Regions from separate parts of the Homo sapiens genome. Here region 2 is linked to region 1. Evidence: promoter capture Hi-C in human tissues and cell types (Jung and others, 2019). All regions are on one chromosome and are shown on one strand. Each heading gives the region's core, a stretch centred on a gene start or on the middle of the fragment in contact. The rest is flanking DNA. Distances are from core to core; before and after follow the strand shown.

Region 1 (6,467 bases), core at 682-3,181:
TAGCAGAAACGATACATTTTTCTGTGTTACTTGGTGGCTCGGTATCCTTTTCTGGTTGAGTATTATAGGAGATGAAGACCCCTGTGAAATATGAAAAATGACAATCCGCCACTGTTTTATATCACAGGCCAAGTATCTCATAGGATCCAGCGAAGGTTGAATGTCTGGGCAGAAGATCTCAGGTCATTAACAGAAAAAGCTCTTTGGCATCCTGTGTCATAGAACAAAGTGTCAAACCTGTTCCCATTACTAGGTGCCTGTGGTGCTTTTCTTAAATAATCAGTCCCATTCAGACAGACATTTTAAGGTCTCTGATCATCTTTCTATTTCACAAGCAGTATTTTTTTAAGGCTAAATGGCACTAGAAGCAGAATGTTTTTAAAGTAAGGTTTAGAAAAGAACTTGGTATATTCCAAAGCTAGCCGGATTCTTTCTCATTTTCCCAAAGGTCAGACAGAAGTTCAGCTCTGACAGCATTGTAGCTGGGAATCCAGATAGAGGCAGGCAACATTTGCTCCAGCTCTACACTCCAGTCTGGGAGGCCTGGGAGCTCCTGTACAAATAGGAATCAATTTTAGGATAGCCTTATGAATCCTAGAGGATGGAATTAGACAAAGCTTTTTTTGCCCCTGCTTTGACCATTTGGCCTCAGATACGGGTGCCCCAATACTTTAATTTTTCTTCTTTAAAGTTTAAAGTTTTTAAGAAAATGAAATAGCTGGTAAGTGAAAATAGTCAAGAAAACATTGTAATTATGCTATATGTACATGTGCGTTTTTTCTGAAGTGGATTTTCAGAGACACAGTTAGAAGGTGTGCTTCACTGCTTTATTCTGCATATGCCCCAATGAATTCCAGGAGGTCACAGCAGCAGAGTACAACTTTTAAGATTAGAAGAGCTTGCTCTTTAAAGAGTTATTTTTAGCTGGAAGGGAGAGTGTAGACCTCAAAGTGCTGGTAGGTATGTTCTACAGTGGGGATCTAATTTGGAGGTCTTTGGAGATCTGATTCCAGGGGAAGGTCTCAGTGGGGCTCCTCTTGCCTCTGCTGCAGGACTGGGTGGCTCTGCTGATTGTCACTGCCTTGTTTGAGGGGTGGTCTCCATCATCCAGGGGAATTCAGCCTGGGACCTATTGTCTAGAGTGTACATTGTATCTAGGCCCAGACCTGCCAGAGTGTCCACAGCCACACTTGAGGAAAGGACATTCCAGACTCATTAAATATCACAATTCGATTTTGATGTCACTAACTCAGGTTCCTGAGATAAATTTCCATACAATTCCTACAGATTGATATGGATATGTGCATCACCCCAGGAGAGGCTCTGGTGAAGGGCAGGCTTGGAGATGCAATGGGCAAGGTTGGGGAAGAGATACCCTCTTCCGGGTTCCGATTTGTGCCCTGAATTTGGGCAAGCTCAAGGAGCACTGGCAACCCCACCAGCACCAGAAGAAGCTGGTCCTGGCTGTCTCCCGAGACTGGTGAAACTGCTCTGGTGGTGGTGCACTGGAAGGGTGGAGGAAAAAAAACAAAAAACAAAACAGGGTTTGAGGGGGAATGGCAGGGACACGGTAGAGGCACAGAGATACAGAGACCTAGAGTCAGAAATCCTGAGTGAGACACACAGAAAGGCAGAAAAAGGCAGAAAGATGCTGAGGGACAGAGACGCAGACCACAAGAATGACAGAAGAAGGAGACAGAGAGAGAGAGGGAGTGAGAAAGATACTGAGAAATAGGGACAGTAAGGGAGAGACTGAGAAAGACAGAGACAGCCAGAGTCGGAGCACAGAGGCCGAGTCTGGGAGACGCTGGTTGAGTGGGAGGTGTCAGTAGCGAGGGAGGTGGTGACGGCTCGAAGCATCCCCCGTCCTCCTCCTCCCCCTTCACGCTCAGCCCAGCCGGCGGCGAGGAGTCCAGAGGCCAAGGTCGCCCAGTCCTCTCGGCTGTCTCGAGCTGAATGGCTGGCAGTCTGCGGCTCCCCCGCCTCCGGCCCGGCAGCCACAGGTCGGAGGCGCCCGGCGTCGGCGCTCGAGGCCGGCAGGGGCGCCCTGCACCCTCCCGCGCCCTTCCCCGCCCTACGCGACTCCCGGCTGCTCTTCCCGCCACTCCCCTGGGCTTTGCGATCTTCCCTACGCCCCCCGGGAAGGGGGCGCTGCGGCCACCGAAGACACCGCGGGAGCCACTTGTCCCTGTGGGCCCAGCCCGCGAGAGCCTGAGAGCCGGATCTGTTTACACAGGGTACTAATTAGTCTTTGAGGAATCATTCACCCACGTGCCAAAGTAATTGTCCGTGTCAGGAAGGTAGGCGTGCCAAGCCGCGGCTCTGCGGAGAAACCACGACCACCGCGGCCGCCGGAAACCCAAAGCGCTCCAGAGCGTCCCCGGGTGGCCGGGCAGCACCAGGGACAGCGCCCGGGACTCCACTGGGGACCGGCTCCTGGGCTTCCCAGCGTCGCGGGTAGAGGTACAGCTGCTCCGTGTGCCGCAGGCTCCAGATTCTCGCCACCCCACCCCTCCCTCAGAAACTCGGACTGCTCTCGTCTGCCGTGTGGTTCTCTTTTCTTCCGAAAGGCCAGTGTCTTATCTCTCCACTTCAAGTCCAGAGGACTTGCTCAGTCTCCTCCCCTTAAGTCATTTCCACCATCCTCAGGCAGCTGTGGGAAGCCGAGAGTCCTGGACTGTTCGTCCGGGTGCCAGCGCTGGCAGTCCCAGTCCGTCCGGTGCAGCAGCCCGGCGCATTCCCCTCTCTCCCTCCCTCTTGCTCTCCCTCCCTTTCTGTCTTCCTCTCTTTCCTCCTCTACTGCTCCCTCCCTCTCTTGCCTCTTAAGTTTCCTGCACCGTGAATCCAACTGTGCCAAGCCTTGGCTCCCGCGAACCAATCCTGAGCGCGACCCGGGCACTGGGACGGCGACTCCGCCAAAGCTGGACGAGGCAGCCGGACCCGTCTGCGCTCGAGCATGGAGACGGAGCGCCTGGGAGGGCACGTCCGGGGCGCTGGAGACGCCAGGCCCGAGTAGCTTCTCCATGGAGCCTGCCCAGAGCGGTCCCTTCTCGCAGGATTCGCCCCAAGTCCTGTGCGGTACGTACCCTTTGCCTCCGCTGTTCCCGGAGGGTACACCTGGGAGCGGGGTGGTGGGCACGAGGAAGGGACGGCAGGGAGGGGCGCTGGTTAGGAAAGAGAACAAGCCTGGCAGGTGACCCTCACAGCTCGGAGGAGGCTTCTTCTCTAGAAGTTAGCGACCGGCTGTACCCTTTGGCTCGAAAAAAGTAGTGCTAGAGATGTGACTGTGAGCATTCGTGGGTATCTCTGTGTGCGCCAGGGGTTCGAATGGGTAAACTGATCCCTGCTTTCCTGTATGCAAATTGCATTCTCTTTCCCCACCCCCACTTCACCGAACGTGTTGAGGTACCTAGCACCTAATCGCGGTCAGTTCTACCTACCTCTTCCTCTCACCGCGCCCCCCTCGCTCAATCTCTCTCTCTCCCTTTATCTTTCCCCTCTATCTCTCTCTGCTGGTGTGTACGTGTGTGAGCACTGCCAGGGCTGGCGAAGAACCAGCCGCCGCCTTTAGTCCGAGCCGCCGGGCCACCCAACACAAGGGCAGGTCTCGCTGCCGGAGAAGCCTGGGCTCCGAACCAGCCTGCACGCGGCTCAGTGTGCTCCGCCGCCTGGGAACTCGCACCCGAGGAGCGCAGGGGGCAAGGAGCCCCTCACCCTCCCTCTCGTCCGCCCGCCCGCCTCCCCAGCTGCGGACCGCGCGCTTGCTGGTCTCAGGCGCTGGATTTACTCGCTTTTCAATTTTTCGTACCCTCCCTCCCTTTTTTTTTTGGTCCCCCACTCCCCGCTACGACCCCCTTTCCCCGCTTGATTGTCAAGCCTAACCTTGCCCGCGTAGTCATGGGATGTCTAATTTTATTTGCATCTAGGCTGCTGAGAGCGCTCCTTGCTCTGTAAAGTGGATGTCAGGTGGATCTATGTTTCTGAAGGAACAAAGACTCAAAGAAGGCACCGCCAAGGAAGTTTGAGACGCGGGAGAATGCAGGCTGCGTGCTGGTACGTGCTTTTCCTCCTGCAGCCCACCGTCTACTTGGTAAGTCTTGGAAGGTTCGGGGCTTTCGCATTTTTACCCCGGCCGGGAGGCAAGGAAACTGGGGACACGCGGGAGAAGGGTTACGCCGCCAGTTCAGTGAGAGCAGCTTCCTAGCAGCTGTGTTGGAGCAACTTTGGCAAGCTGGTCTCTGGATTCCTGCGGATTTTCCGGGGTTCCCACCCCATTTTCTGCTCCAATCCCCCAGTCTCCTGCGCGTGATTCTTGAAAGGGGCTAGGGCGCCCCAGACACCCTAAACCCAAGGAGGTAGTGAGATGGGGTGCTTTATGTGATAGAGGGCCAACGAGAAGAAGTGGAAGGCAGGAACTCTCAGTAGCTCATGCACAGAGTTTAAACGAAGGGAAGTGGGGGTGTAGTTGGGTGGTGGAAAGAACAAATCTGCCCAGGTCTGTGAGTTTAAAAGTGAATCTACCCACCCACTTCCCCGATTTGGAGATGAGACACATAAAGAAGCGCAGTTAACTTTCTTTGACTTGTAAGGGTTCCGACAGGATAAGTTTAACTATCAGGGGTACTGCAAGCAATCGGAGTTAGGACAGAGATACTCCAGCAAACATGTCCACCTTCCTCTCGTCTCGACCTCCCCTTTTCATCAAATAACTAAATCCCATCTCCAGTGACTAGTCCATTATTAGGGAATGGTAGGCCTTGTCGCCAGGGAGAGAATTCTAAACAAAGCCGCGGTCCTTGTCCTTCAGTAGCAGAGTTTTCCGGGGGGCTGGACTTTGTACACTGCTGGAACTCGGCTCCTGGTTGAAGAGCTTTGTTGTGGTGAATTGGTAGCTGTTTGTGCCATGTTGAGACAAGGAGAATGAGATATTTCAGGTCTGGCTTCTGGGGTGGGAATGGGGGAATGGGGGTAAGGGACACTTGTGCCCTGCTGGTGAAGTTGTGTTCAGTGTCCCGACCCCCATAGCCCATCCTGGGCTGCGGGAGTGCACCGAGGGCTCGCTATGTTCTGTCTAGGGGTGAGGTGCGCTAAAGCAGCCCGAACTCTCTGATGGGCTACACCTCTGATTGGAGGTGATACTGGCGCTCCTCAATCCCAAGAGCCTTAGATAGAACCCATAAGCCTGAAAGAATTGCCATCCCTACAATTGACAGCGTTTCTCGGCCGTTGCCCTGGTGCATGTGGCTGCAAAGCTGCGAGTTGTGTGAATTCTGTGTATGTGAGTGACACGTATATATATGTGTGTGTGAATGTGTATTTAACCGATTTCAGCTTCAATCCAAGAACCCTCAATGTTGCCTGTCTTTGCCCCTTTATCGCCTGACCGTAGCAGCCGCGGACGCCAGAGGGCGCTGCGCATCAGCGTCCTCGCCCACAGGACACCTTGGGGTAAACAGGTGAAAGCCAGGGCAGCCAATCCAAAAGAACAGCCTTTCTGACTCTGTCACCGAAGTCTGTGCCTTTACCCGCTGGAACGCAGGCGGAATGCAAAAAGTGTCCTTCCCATTTCCCATCTTCAATCATTTTCACCCCCACCTGTGTTCAGTAAGCCCACTGACATTGAGAGACCATGGATGGAGGGCAGAAAGTTTGGCCAGAAGAAATATAGAATTTTTTTATTGAGAGATGGGGGGAGGGAATGCAAAGTGAAAGCGACGGGGGCGGGGGGGAGGTAATTTTAAGGATTCCCTTGACCATCGTAACCCGCTTGCCCTTTTCCTCTGCATACCTTTACGCCTGACCTGAACTTGAGGACTGTTCTTACGTCCTTGGGCTGTGCTCACACACACGGCAAGGGCTTGTGGCTATGGTGCAGTTTATTGCTTGGAGCAAGTATTTCGATAGTCTGGAAAATAATCTATCAAAAGCAGAAGTGAAATCAATACTTTGTGTTAAATTTTAAATGTGTTTGTTGGCAGTTAAACCGTTTTCCACTCATTACAACAACAGTGCTGGATTTATTCTAATGCGCTGCGTTCTCAACAACAAGCGCATTAATTCTCCTTTAATTGTAAACTGGGAGCATTTGAAAACCATTCAGTGTGCAAATTATGCTGATTCAATTACCGTTTAGTTACAGACTTCATTACCTGAATGCCTTTTGGCAATACAGAGAAAGGAGACAATTTTTCCAATTTCACTCAAAACAATACGAAATGTGAACAATAAAATAGAGAAGGCTATTTAGAAGTCCGTTCTTTTTTCTCCAATCTAAAGTACTTTTGTGTGTCGGGGACTAGAAACCACATGCACCACAAAAACTACAGCTGATGGCTGTGACCCAAGGCAGTATTTCCAGGGATTGTAATCCCATGGATATTTGCCAGCAGAATTCCGAGCTGTTTTCCTGAAGGAGCAAAAAGCTGACTTCTACCATGGAAATGAATTTAAAAGGGTGAATTGGGCAG
Region 2 (6,906 bases), core at 1,119-3,618, 650 kb after region 1:
GTAGCCATGACATTACTTACATATTTTAACACAGACACATATTTTTCACACACAAATAAATTAGAATGACTGTACCAATATTATTACAACTTCAACATATATTTATTATCTAACAATTTCCATGGGTCAAGAGCCTAGGCATGGCATGGGTGGTTCGTCTATGCTCAGAGTGTAACAGGCTGTAAAAAATGTTAGCTTGCCTGCATTCTTATCTGGAGAGCCACTCACTTCTAAGCTCTTCAGGTATCTAACAGATTCTTTATCTTTCAGCTGTATGGAAAAGGGCCCCAGCTTTCTTCTGGCTGCTGCCTGAAGGCTTCCTGACATTCCTTTTGAATTCATAAAGAGTAAAAGCAGAGTCTTTAACTTCAGGGAGAGCCCCGTCCTTTTTTTTTTTTTTTTTTTTTTAAGAGATTTCACTTAGGTCAGGTCTTCTCAGGATAATCTTCTATTTGATTGATCTGAGACCTTAATTACATCTGCAAAATCCTTTCACTTTTGCCATATTCTATCCGTAGAAGCAAGCCATAGTTTCCACCCACATTAAAGGAAAATGAATTATTCAGGATAATAGTACTAGGGAGAGAGGATCATTGGGGCCACTTTAGGACTCTATTTGCCCCAGGGATAATAATATCTAAAAAAAATAGAATTCTTGTTATAATTAAATAATGTAGCATAAGTAAGCACTTGTCAGAGCCTGTACCCAAAATACAGTTCAGTTATGAAAAATAATATTAGACGATGTGGGGGTTGGGCAAGGGTGGAAGCAGGGGTCTGATGGTGAAGAAGGAATTAAAGATAAATATAACACCTCCTGGAACTTTGACTCAAATTTCAGAAAGAGAGATACAGAAGATTTAATGTAAAACAGATCAGAATGTATGAGATAATAGATGGCAGCACACAAGACATTTACACCCTTCAAAAATAGTAAGTCAAAATTAATAACAGACCTAAATATAAAATGCAAAATAAAATTCCTAGATGATAAGCAGAGAAAATTTTTGGTATTGTGATGAAGTTTTAGAAATAACACCAAAGGCAAGATCCATGATGAATTAGACTTCGTTAAAATTAAAAAATTATGCTCTGTAAAAGAAACTGTCAAGAGAATGAAAAGATAAGGCATAGACGGGAAGAAAATATTTACAGAAGATATACCTGGTAAAGGACAATTACCCAAAATATACAAAGATCACCTAAATCTCAACAATACGAAAACATCCCTATTAAAATACGGGCCAAACACCTTAACAGACACTTCACCAAAAAAGATAGAGAGATGTAAAATAAGCATAGGAAAAATTGCTCTACACCATATATCATCAGAGAAATCCAAATTAAAACAAACAATGAAATATCACTACGTGCCTATTAGAATGGCCAAAAACCCAGAACCGTGACAACATGGAATGCTCGCAAGGATGTAGGGCAACAGGAGTTCTTATTCGTTGCTGCTGGGAATGCAAAATGGTACAGCTACTTTGGAAAACAGTTTGGCAGTTTGTCACAAACTAAACATACTCGTATATGTAATTCCGAAATCATGCTTATTACTATTTACCCAAATGAGTTAAAAATTTAAATACACTAATTGGTGTGGCAGTGTCCAGGGCTGATGTCCCCCGTGGAGGCAGGGGGAAGCTGCATATGATGTTCTTGTGTTTCAGAAAAGCACAGAGCAAGGTTTTGTAGAGAAGATTGAGAAGTACTGGATAACAGTACAATCAAGTGCTTTTTATAGATGTTTGAACTTGTTCCTGCCCATGCCCTGTGGGGTACTTAGCTCTAATCTGATTAAGCATTTTTATGGATGACTCAAATATAGACATAGCAGGTGGTTTCACGAAGCAGGCGCAGACGATCTTGCAGATGATCCTGCTACCACCAGGGACAGAGCTGGTCTGGAGGCTGCTACAGCTCTACAGACATTTGCCGCTGCAGCTGCCGACCAAGGGCATCCAGGAGCATTATAAGCATGCTGTCAGGCAGAGTTTCCAGCTTCATTCAGATGAAGACAACCCTGATATATATATATCTATCTGAGAACCCAGAGAGTGAGCTATGATAAAGACATTGAAGTTCAGAAACCTCTCTTCTGGAGCTTAGCAGCAGCAGTGGCAATTTTGAAAGATCCCCTGGCATTGTTGGGAGAAAGAGCTGTTGGGAGGAGATGCTGACCTTGCTCAGAAGGCCCTTCTTGCCAGAGTCTTGTTTCCAGCATCACTTACGTTTGCACTTCTAGTTGGTTATGACGTGAAATTTGGGGAAAATGTGGTATTTTTTTTCTTTGTGTTTTTAAAGTTTTTCTTTTCTTTTCTCTGAAAGTGATTCATTGATTCTGGAGGTCTCTTTACCATTTTTTGAGTCCCAGAGCTGGTGTCCCCTCGGGTGGTAGCCTGTACAAGGGAAAAAGCATAGATAGATTTTAGAACCAGAAAGATCTGGAGCTGAATCCCAGCTCAGTGGCTTTTCAAGGGTATTGTCTTTGAACTCACCTTCCTCCTTTGTGAGAATAAAATAAGGTGGAGTTGAAGCACCTCACACAGAATATGGCACAGGGTAGTGCCTGTAAGTGTCCTCTCTGAGGATGCTGTCCTGCCCTGCCCCTTCCTGTGCTCCCACAGTGTTCTGCACATCTCTGCTCCAGCATGCACTGTATTGGGTCTTAGTTATTTGTTTGTAAGCTTGTCCTGTTCCTGCTTATAGCCCCTGAGTCCTCACAGTTGTCACACACTAAGCAGTCTGACAAGGAGCTGCTCTTCCTGACCACTGTATCTCCATGCCCAAGGAGGTAGAAGCCCTGGGCCTTTCCTTCCAGGAGTTAACAGTGTCCTTGAAGTGGTGCGATACATAATGTGTGAACCAAGGAAGGACGCCAGAGCAGCTGTAGTGGACACTGGCCTTTTCAGTCTTCTGTGCACCTGCGATCTGTCTCAACTGGATCTTCCTTGCCTTGCCACCATGGTGGAAGAATGGAAGGGAAAGAGAGTAGGAATGTGGGCTCAGGGAGAACTGGACAGAGCAGCCAGAAGATACAGAGAGAAGCCTCAGTAGGACTTGAGTATTCCCCAGAGGCACTCAGCCACAGGGATGATCTAGCATGTGTTTGTATCCTTGCAATTATGTGACTTAAGGTGACTCAGAGACATCTATATGTGTGTATGTACTCCACTGACTAACAATGAAGTAAATATATGAATTTGTGGGAAATAACGTATATACACACAAAAGTCTGCACAGATAATTATAACATCTTTATTCATAATTGTCAAAACATAGAAGTAACCAAGATAAGATGCGTTTCCATAGATGAATATTTTAAGTTAAAATAACTCAGGTACATCCACACAATGGAATTTTATTCAGCACTAAAAAGAGATACCAAGCCATGAAAAAAACATGGAGAAACCTTAAATATGTATTATCATGTGAAATAATCCAATCATAAAAAGATACATACTATGTAAGTCCAACTACATGACACTCTGGAAAAGATAAAATTGAGACATTACAATGATTGGTGTTGCTAGAACTTAGTGCGGAGGGAGGAATAAATAGGTGAAGTACAGAAGATTTTCACAGTAAAACTATTCTCTATATTACAGTGGTGTATGTGTAATTATATATTTGTCTATACTTACAGAATGTAGAACACCAAAAGTGAATTCTAATGTAAACTAGACTCAGGTGATAATTTCGTGTCAATGCGGGTTCATCAAATGTAATAAGTGTGCCACTCTCGTAGGGGATATTAATAATAAGGAAGGTTATGTGTGTCAGGACAGTGTTATATGGGAAATCTCTGTACTTCTGCTTAATTTTGCTGTGAACCTAAAAGTTCTCTAAAAAAAAGTCTATTTTTAAAATTGATTATGTTAGCATGACATATCTTTAAAGAAAGCTTGAATAACCATATTAATTTCAGACAGAGCAGATTTCAAATTAAGGAAAGTTATTAGGGATAGAGGGGATATTACATAAAGATCAAAGGGATGATTCTCCAAGAATACCTGACAACCCTTAATAGGTGTGAATGTAAAAACAGGTTCAAAATTCATGAGACAACATATAGAACTGCAAGAAGAAATAGATAAATCTGGAGTTTCACACCTCTTTATCAATAATTGACAAATTTAACAGGCAAATAATCAGTAAGGATATAGTGAAGTGAATGACACCATTAATCAATTAGATCTGTTTGACATTTATATAATACCTCATTCCCAAACAGCAGAATACACATTTTTCTCAAACCTATATGCAACATTCTCCAAGACAGATCATATTCTGGGCCATAAAACACCTCTTAACACACTTAAAGTATAAAAATTATACAAAATATGTTCTCAGATCACAGTGGAATCAAATTAAAAATTAATAACTGAAAATATCTGAAAAATCCCAAATATCGGGAGATTAAACAACACACATTTAAAGATCATGTGGGTCAAAGAAGAATTCTAAAGAGAAATTAAAAATATTTTGAAATAAAAGTAAAACACAACTTAAAATTTATGGAATACAGAAAAACAGTGCTTACAGGGAAATTTATAGAATTGAATACATATATTAGGAAACAATGATCTAAAATCAATAACCCAAGCTTCTACTTTAGGAAACTAGAAATAAGAGTCAATTAAATTCAAACTAAGCAGAAAAAAATTAAAAATTGTGGCACGTATCAATGAAATTGAAAACAGAAAATTAATAGAGAAAAATCAAGGAAATAAAGAAGTAAAATTGCTAAACCTGTAGCCAGGCTGTATTAGTTTGCTGGGGATGGTATAACAAAACAGCAAAGCCTGATAGCTTAAACAATAGATATTTATTTTCTCATAGTTGTGGAGGCTAGAGGTCCAGGATCAAAGAGTAGGCAATTTTAGTTCCTCCTGAGGCCTTTCTCCTCGACTTGCACATAGCTGCCTTCTTGCTGTGTGCTCACACAAATGTTCCTTGTTGTGTGCAGAACCCTGTTGTCTCTTTATGTGTCCAAATTTTCCCTTCTTATAGGGACTTGCATTAGATTAAATCAGGGTCTGTCCTGATGGCCTCATTTCAACATAGTCACCTCTTCAGAGCTGTCTTTCCAATTGTAGTCACATGCTGAGGTACTAGGAATTAGAACTTTAACATATGAATTTTGGGGGCACAATTCAGCCCATAACAAAGCCTAACCAAAAAGAAAAAATAGGGAAAACACACATTTGTAATATCAGAGATAAAATAGCAGCCATCACCACTGTTCTAATAAGTATTAAGAGAATTTTAAAGAAATAAAGGAACAACTCCCTACTCTCAAATTTGTTAATATAGACTAAATGTACCAATTTCTTGAAAACACAAACTACCAAAAATAATACGAGGATAAATAATTTGAAAAGGGCTATATGTGTTAGAAGAATTATTGTTGTCAAAGGCTGCGAAGGGTATTGGGGAGGTGGGGGAGAAGTGGGAATGGTTAACAGGTACAAAAATATCATTAGAGTGAATAAGATCTAGCATTTGATAGCACCACTGAGTGATTACAGTCATCAATCATTTATTGTACATTTAAAAATAACTAAAAGTATAATTGGAATGTTTGTAACACAAAGCAATAATAAATGCTTGAGGTGACAGATACTGCATTTACCCTAATGTGCCTATTACACATTATATTCCTGTATAAAAAAAATTTGAATCAGTGATAATAACCTTCCAAAAATGGAAATCACCAGGCTTGGATGGTTTCACTAGTGAATTCCACTGAACATTAAAAAAAGATTATGATTGTGTAATCTTTTTTTCCAGAAAATTAGAAGCAGAAGGAACACTTCCTAACTAATTCTGTGAAGCCAGAATTACCCTAATACCAAAACCAGACAAAAACAACAAAAAAAAGAAAAATTATAGAGGGATCTGTTAGATGAACACAAAGAAAAAATTTTTCAACCAAACATTAGCAAGTGAAACTGAAAATGTATAAAAAGAATTATATAACACTACCAAGTAGTATTTATTTCAGGTTTTTCAAGGATGGTTCAACATTAAAATAATAAAGAGGTAAACCAACAACAATTACATAGAAAGCGCTAAAATAGAAAGGACAATTTTTCAATGGAAAATTGCTAAACAAGCAAGATAGTAAATTCTGATAGATTTGGCTAGTCTTCTTCTGCGACCTTAAGGAAAAAAAAGGGGCTTATTTTAGTCCATTCAGGTTTCTATAGAAATATACCATAAACTTGGTGGCTTACAAACAATAAATATTTATTTCTCACAGTTCTGGAGGCTGGGAAATCCAAAGTTGAGGTGCCACAGAATCTGTGTCTGGTGAAGGCCTGCTTCCCAATCAAAGGCCATTTCTCACTGTAACCTCCCATACAGGAAGAGTGAGGGAGCTTTCTGGGGTCTTTTTTATTAGGACATGTATGTATCCCATTCATAAAGGCTCAAGACTTCATCATCTCTGAAAAGCCATACCTCCTAATACTATCATCTTCAGAGTTAGGATTTCAATATATGAATTTTGGGGAGACATTTCAGGGCAGGTATCCTTAATTAAATTTAAGAATGTAACTATCGCAAGGACAAAAAACCAAACACCACATGTTCTCACTCATAGGTGGGAATTGAACAATGAGAACACATGGACACAGGAAGGGGAACACCAAACACCGGGGACTGTTGTGGGGTGGAGGGTTGGGGGAGTGGGGAGGGATATCAGTAGGAGATATACCTAATACTAAATGACGAGTTAATGGGTGGAGCACACCAACATGGCACATGTATACATATGTAACAAACCTGCACATTGTGCACATGTACCCTAAAACTTAAAGTATAATAATAATAAAATTAAAAAAAAAAGAATGTAAGGCAAATGCATGATAGCCTGTAGGGGCTTCTAGAATCAACTTT

Evidence for each region. Contacts are between HindIII fragments. The study calls those that stand out against the background at their distance.
Region 2: a contact is called between a fragment that was not itself captured here and the fragment with the promoter of NXPH1 in region 1, in 1 of the 25 tissues and cell types used here (H1 embryonic stem cells).

Annotation. Positions count from the first base shown.
Region 1 is chr7:8,431,678-8,438,144 of GRCh38, forward strand. NXPH1 (neurexophilin 1) reads left to right here and starts at 1,932. Exons shown (of 3, transcript NM_152745.3): 1 at 1,932-3,078; 2 at 3,927-4,090. The coding sequence starts at 4,037. RefSeq lists enhancers at 2,496-3,043, 3,044-3,591, 3,592-4,139. The HindIII fragment of the contact is 8,604 bases long and covers 1-6,467 here.
Region 2 is chr7:9,082,147-9,089,052 of GRCh38, forward strand. No RefSeq gene overlaps it. Among named protein-coding and RNA genes, the nearest start is that of NXPH1, 650 kb to the left of the region's middle. The HindIII fragment of the contact is 3,780 bases long and covers 479-4,258 here.